Linked DNA regions of Homo sapiens: region 2 is linked to region 1. Evidence: promoter capture Hi-C in 16 types of primary human blood cells and fetal thymus (Javierre and others, 2016). All regions are on one chromosome and are shown on one strand. Each heading gives the region's core, a stretch centred on a gene start or on the middle of the fragment in contact. The rest is flanking DNA. Distances are from core to core; before and after follow the strand shown.

Region 1 (3,521 bases), core at 474-2,973:
CGAAAAAAAAAAAAAAAAAAAAAACAGATGACCCCGGTAGCTGTCCTGTGAAGTCCTAAAGGCGAAAAGTGGAGCCCTCGAGGGGCAGCACACCGTCCTGCGCGGCCAGGCTCCGGAGTAGGCATAGGGAGCCCGGAGCTCCCCCAAGTCGCCCTCTCGTCCCCAGAGCCCAACCAAGCCCCGGCGCTGCTCCCCGCCCAGCCCAGCCCGCGGGTGCTGCTGCAGGGTCTCCACCCACGCTCTTTGCAACTTCCCAGCGCCGCGCGGGGACCAGCGCCCGCAGGCTCAACAACAAACCAGTAGGAGAAAATCAAACAATCTAAGGAAAGGCGAATGGATTTGCTTTGCCTCCATGGACTTCGCCTTAGAACTCCTTCGCGAGGGTCTGTCCGGTCACCGCGCCTCGGCCGGGGCGACCTAAGGCGGCTGAAGGAGGGTGCGAGAAGGCGCGGCGACCTCAGCCGCATCCACGTGTGCGCGCCGCGCAGGGACCTTTCGCCTGGGGGCAGAGCCCGCGGGGATCGCGTCCCGGTTGCGCGGCAGCGGCCTTGGGTGCTGCCGGCCTCTGTCCCCTTGAGCCGAGTGGCGACTGCGACGGCTGCCGAGCTAGCCCTGGCACCCGCCGCTCGCAGGGAGCCCCGGCGTGTGCTGCTGGGAAAGTCCAGAGGCCGGTGGAGACTGGGGAACGAGCAACTGACAGTTCGGACGAGGATTTCCCTCCTCCTCCTCCTCTCCCTCTTCCCATCTGTCCGGCCAAAAATGTGAAGGGACTGCACCCATCTTCCCGGCGAGCCTCCCTAAGTGCAGTGACATGTGCGACGGCGGCGCGTGTGGGTGCGCGTGCAATGTTTGCAGTGGAAGTAAAAGCCTTTCAGAGAAAAATGATTCGAACCTCCAAAACCAGGTCTTAAGACAATTTGCAAAAGTAGAGACCCCTTTATCCCCCTAAAATCTGCTTTTCAGCCGCCTGTCAGCTGACACTGGTCCTCGCCTCCATAAAGAATGAATGAAATTTAAATGAACTACCTGCAGCTACTAAACAATCCAGCATTTTCCCTGTATCTGCCATATGCTCTGCACTTCCAAGTCCAAACATATCTCAATGCATCCAGCAATTACGCTGCGGATCCCTCGCCGACACCCGCGGCATCAAGCCAGGCACCTGGTGGGCTCCCCGGGGCTGGTGGGCACCGCTCTGCCCTCGGCTGGAACGTGCTTTCTTTTTCCCCCTAAAGAAAAATGTATCCCCATGCAACTTGCAAAATGAGCCGCAGGGCGTGCTTCCCAACGTCCGGATACATTTCCCGCAAAGACTCTTCCATTCATCAGTCTCTGGAGCGGCTTCTGCTGCCGAGGCAGGGGCTCCAGGTCCTCGGAGGGTCTGACAGCCCCTCAGATGATCCCGGAACGAATTCCCACCTGCTCCCGGGAGCCTGGCGCCCCGCGCGCCCCCGCGCGCCCCCGCCCTCGGCCGCCCGCCCGGCTCCCCGTTACCTGTGCCGGGGTCTTCGGGCCATGGCGCGGCGGGCGCGGGGCTCCGCCGAGAGCCGCGGGGACCGCACCGGGCTGCCGCCTCCCGCTGCCCGCCGCCTGCCTGCGTCCCTCCCCGGCTGCGCAGCGGCGCTCCGCACCGCTGGGGCGAAGTTTCTCAGGAGAAAGAGGAGGAGGAGGTCACGGAGGAGGAGGAGAAGGAGGAGGAGGAAACAGGTTGATATTAAAGTGTAAACTCTGTAAACAGAGATGCCATCAAACAAAGAGCTTTGGACACTCCCCCTCCCGCCAAATCTGGCGCCCCTGCAGTGCGCACGCGCCCTGCCCGCCGCCTCCGCGGTCGCCCTGGCTGCCGCCCGCGGGGCTGCCGGGCTGGCCGGGTCGCCGCTCCCATTCGGCGCTCGCGCCGCCGCGGTGCGCCTAGCGCGCCGCGAGGCCCGGGAGGCGCGCGGGCAGGGAGCCCGGGGCCAGGGAGGGGTGGCCGGGGGCCGCGACGGCGCCTTTTCCTGAGCAAACCCCGCTCCCGGGTCGCGGCGGCGCCGACCCGCGCCCAGTCCCGCCGCCTCCCCTCCTCCCTGGCTGCCGCACCGCGGTCGCCCGGCTCCGCGTGCTCCCGGGCAGCGGGACCAGAGCTCCTCCAGCTCCCACTCACTGTCGCGGGGGCGGCAAGCGGTGGGGGGAAATTCCCGCACAGAAGATTGGATTTTCGTCAAGGTTTACAACTGTGCCCTCTGGAGACGGGGAAATTAGGAGTTGGAGGAGTAGGGGATGTGAGCATATGTATTCATAGGCTGTTTGGCTAGGGTTTTTTTTCCTTCTTCTTAAATAAATAACATCTCTAATTTAACTTGTTAGTGACAAAGGACGCTTCAATACAAGTGGGCGGCAACCATCACCGCTCACTAATGGAGCGCCCCAGCGGAGCTTTCACTCCCCTCCCGGATCCTGCAGCCGCCACCGTCGTATTGTCACATGTCCTTCACTCTCACCCCAGCACACACCCGGGCCCCACCCACCCCGCCCCGCCCGGCCCAGGCGGTGCCCACCGCACACCTTTGCTCCCCTCCCTGCACAGAGCGCGCACCCTGGATTGCACACCTGCAAAAAAAAAAAAAAAAAAAAAAAAAAAAAAAAAATACACGGGGGTCCAGACAGCCCGCCCCTAGCAGAACTCAGGAAACCCCACGTTTGCATGCATGGTTTTAGAAGTAAAACAGTTTGTGATTTTGGAGGTCGGTATCCCTGCTTAGTGTCATTTGAGGGCTCTATTTTACGAGATAAAAGTCAGCAAAGGCTTTCGTGTTGTTTAATGAGGGTCTCCAGAAGTAAAGGAAGAAGATAAGTGCTGAATTTATAAGGATTGATGACTGGGGGGATTTTAGGGGAGTTTTAGTTTTACTTCCGTTTATAGATTAGAACCATTGGGGATTTTTTTTTCATTCTCTGTACACACTAATGTATTTTTCCTTTAATCTTTTAGGAGTTTGAGACTTCTGCTGACTGGGTTTGTGGGTGTCCCATGTGCCCCAGCAGTTCAAACTTAGCTCAGAAAGCATTTTTTCTTACTAAAAAAGCATGTTCTTACTAAAATGAGTCATAATTTTATTAAACGGTGAAGCATGCGAGGTTTCAAGACTATCTGGTGTTTTAGACTTTCTTTAAAATTGTTATATAGTTTAAATCTTTATCAAGTGTTAGTTGCTAGTAAGGTTTTAACATTCCTTTCCTCCTGAGAAGAAAATAACACTGAAACAAAATTATTGTGAGATATTTCGGATCACAATTACAAAGGACAAGGCAAATTAATACTTTTAAAGCCAATATTTATTTCTAGATTCTATAATAATTTTCTTTCTTCACATCAAAAATAAACAAAATCTTTTAAAAATATCTAGAATAAACATCTAGAAACCACCCCTAAAGAAATTGCATTCTGGCTTTCGGATTGCTTTATGAATCTAACTGGCAAGATTCCCAATTGCTGAGTCTCTTGGACACAATGTGAGTATCTGAACCCTTTGTGAAGTGAG
Region 2 (3,768 bases), core at 1,069-3,568, 1.0 Mb after region 1:
CTATATATAAAATCACAAAATCACACAAGTGGACAGCTGCAGCACTGTGGTCTCTTTCTGGCAGGTCCCTGAAGGACAGTGCTGAAAAGATACCCGCACAGTGAGCAGAACCTCGAGCACCTGGTTGTTCATTTTGCTTGTAAGGAGAAATGGCCAGATATGCGATTATATACCAATTTATGGGCTGTGGCCAATAGTTTGGCTGGATGGTCAGAGACTTGGAAGGAACATGATTGGAAAATTGGTGACAAAGAAATTTGGGGAAGTGATCTGTGAATAGACCTCTCTGAATGAGCAAAAAAAAAAAGGTAAAGATATTTGTGTCCACATGAATTCTCAGCAAAGGGTGACCTCAGTAGAGGGGTATTTTAACAATCAAGTGGATAAGATGACCCATTCTGTGGATACCAAACAGCCCCTTTCCCCAACTACTCTTGCATCCAGTGAGCTCATAAACAAAGTAGCCATGGTGGCAAGGATGGAGGTTATGCATGGACTCAGCAACATGGACGTCCACTCACTAAGGCCAACCTGGCTACAGCCACTGCTGAGTGCCCAATCTGCCAGCAACAGAAATGAACACTGAGCCTCTGATATGGCACCTTTCCTCGGGGTGATCTGCCAGCCACCTGGTCGCAGGCTGATTATATTGGACAGCTTCCATCATGGAAGAAGCAGTGTTTTGTCCTTACTGCAGTAGACACTTATTCTGAATATGGATTTGCCTTCCTTGAACACAATGCTTCTGCCACAACTACCATCCATGGACTCCCAGAATGCCCTATCCCCTGTCATGGTATTCCACACAGACACAGCACTGCTTCTGATCAAGGAATACATTTTATAGCCAAAGAGAGGCAGCAATGGGCCCATGCTCCTGGAATTCACTGGTCTTAACCATGTTTCCCATCATCCTGGAGCAGCTGGGTTAATAGAATGAATGGTGTAATGGCCTTTTGAAGTTACGGTGATGATTTTTTTGCATGGCTGGTGCAAGGTTCTCCAGAAAGTTGTATATGCTCTGAATCAACATCCAGTATATGGTGCTGCTTCTCCCATAGCCAGGATCCACAGGTCCAGAAATGGAAGGGGTGGAAGGGGTGGAAATGGGAGTGGCACCACTCACTATTCCCCCTAGTGACCCATTGGAAACATTTTTGCTTTCTGTTCCCACGACTTTATGATCTGCAGGCCTGGAGGTCTTAGTTCCAGAGGGAGGAGTGCTTCCGGAGACACAACAATGATTCCATTGAACTGGAAGTTAAGACTACCACCCAGCCACTTTGGGATCCTCATGCCTCTGAATCAAAAAGCTAAGAAGGGAGTTATGATGTTGGCTGGAGTAACTGATTCAAAATACTAGGGAGAAATTGGACTACTATTCCACAATGGAGATAAAGAAGTGTATGTCTGCCAGGAACGGTGGCTCACACCTGAAATCCCAGAACTTTGGGAGGCCGAGGCGAGCAGATCATTTGAGGTTAGGAGTTCGAGACCAGCTTGACCTACATACTGAAACCCCGTCTGTACTAAAATACAAAAATTAGCCGGGCATAGTGGTGGGTGCCTGTAATCCCAGCTACTCGGGAGGCTGAGGCAGGAGAATTGCTTGAACCCAGGAGGCAGAGGTTGCAGCAAGCCGAGATCACACCCATGCACTCCAGCCTGGGCGACACAGTGAGACTGCGTCTCAAAAAAAAAACCAAAAAAAAAACCCAGAAGTGTATGTCTGAAATACAGGAGATCCCTTAGGATGTCTCTTAGTATTACCATGTCCTGTGATTAAGGTCAATGAGAAATTACAACAACTCAATCTGAGTAAGTCTGTGAATGGCCCAGACTCTTCAGAAATGTAGGTTTGGGTCACCTGCCACATAAAGAACCACAATCAACTGAGGTTCTTGTTGAAGGTAAAGGAAATATAGAATGGGTGGTAAAGGAAGGTAGTTATAAATACCAGCTATGATCACGTGACCAGTTACAGAACCAAGCACTGCAACTGTGATGAGTATTTCCTCCCTGTTTTGTTAAGAATATGTTGTGCGTCTATGTACATATATTAATATCTTTGTTTTCATTCTTCTCTTATGTCTTTATCATGTAACACATTTATTGACTTTATATCAGTATTTACAAGATTTATTGACTTTATGTCAGTATTTAAGTATTGTTAATTTTATATCATAGTATTTAAGTTATGGGATATCAGCAGAAGAGTAAACATCACCCAAGGACTTTACCTTCTCTTCTGGGGAAGGGACTGGTATGTTTTCTGTTGTACACAGAACAGGTGCATTATATTAGGTAGAATTATCACTTTGCTATTGTCTTTATTTGGAGATTAAGTGTGATACAAAGAGATGTGTAATGGCTGCCAAGTTGAAAGGTGAGAACGTGTGATGGTTAATTTTAAGTGTCAACTTGACTGGATTAAGGAATACGTAGAGAACTGGCAAAGCATTATTTTGGGGTGTGGCCTTAAGGGTGCCTCCAAAGGAGACTGATGTGTGAGTCTGGGTGGACTAAGTAGAAAAGACCCGCCCCCACTAATGCGGGGACAGGGGGGTGTGGGGGGTAGTGTCCAATCGCTTGGGAGCCTAGATAGAACCGTGGGTAGGTCACTCACTCTCCTGGAACTGGGATACATGCTTCTTCTCCGGCCTTCGGACATCAGGTTCTCCAGCCTTTGGCCTTTGGACGCTAGGACTTACACCAGCAGCCCCCGGATTCTCAGTTCTTCAGATTTGGACTGAGCCATGCTAGTGGCATCCCAGGGTCTCCAGCTTGCAGACAGCCTGCCATGGGATTTCTCAGCTTTCATAATTGTATGAGCCAATTCCCCTAATAAATCTCCTCTCTTCTCTTTCTCTTTCTCCATCTCTTTCTCTGTCTCCCTCTAGATATATCCTATTGGTTTTGTCTCTCCAGAAAACTAATACACACACACACACACACACACACACACACACACTCATAGAGATATGAAAGTGTAGTTTCATATCTTAACTTGGCACTAAGCATTTGTACCACTTGCATATGTGCTGTGGCTTTTGTCATTTCTGACAACCTGATGGCCATTCTGCTATGGCTTTAAAACTACTTTGTCCAGGCTGGGACTGCACAATAGGGGCCCTTTTATCAAGTCCTTATCATTGTGTAGAGAAGGCTATTTTGGGAGGATATAAAGGGATATAAAGTAGAAGGGGGTTGTGCTAAATGTTCATTCAGGCTTTCTGGCAATACAAAAATTATGGAGAACTTCATGGCTGCAAGACAGAAAGAAAACAGTCTATGAGGTGACTGTGTCATCCCCTGGCAGGAAGAAAAGTTCTAAAGTTCTTGAGGAAAGTTGGTTGGATGACAAGAGTAAAACAGGTTACAATGGCATACTTTTCTATAAGCCAAATTCATATGATATCGTCCATAGAGGGGGTTTAATGCAAACCATTATGAAAGCATTTTATTTCTCAAGCACTTCCTGTGGGCTAGGCCCTCTCCTGGGCACCAGGGATGATGTGGCAAATAATATAGATAATTATTCCGGCCAGGGTCGGTGGCTTATGCCTATAATCCCAGCACTTTGGGAGGCTTAGGTGTGCGGATCACTGGAGCCCAGGAGTTCGAGACCAGCCTGGCTAACACCGCAAGACCTCATCTCTACAAATAATATAAAATATAAGCCAGGCATGGTGGCACACACCTGTGGTCCCAACTACTAGAGAGGCTGAGGTGGGAAGATTGCTTGAGCCCGGGAGGCAGAGGTTGTGG

The links. Contacts are between HindIII fragments. The CHiCAGO score rates a contact against its expected background, and 5 or more counts as called.
Region 2: a fragment that was not itself captured here is called in contact with the fragment with the promoter of MYB in region 1 in 1 of 17 cell types (fetal thymus); the score reaches 5.3 in fetal thymus.

Annotation. Positions count from the first base shown.
Region 1 is chr6:135,179,510-135,183,030 of GRCh38, reverse strand. MYB (MYB proto-oncogene, transcription factor) reads right to left here and starts at 1,723. Exons shown (of 16, transcript NM_001130173.2): 1 at 1,495-1,723. The coding sequence starts at 1,517. RefSeq lists silencers at 476-555, 1,605-1,654, 1,715-1,934, 2,005-2,054, 2,495-2,604 and 2 more. The HindIII fragment of the contact is 5,797 bases long and covers 1-3,521 here.
Region 2 is chr6:134,184,759-134,188,526 of GRCh38, reverse strand. All of the region lies in intron 3 of SGK1 (serum/glucocorticoid regulated kinase 1), which reads left to right. Among named protein-coding and RNA genes, the nearest start is that of SGK1, 130 kb to the left of the region's middle. The HindIII fragment of the contact is 6,291 bases long and covers 1-3,768 here.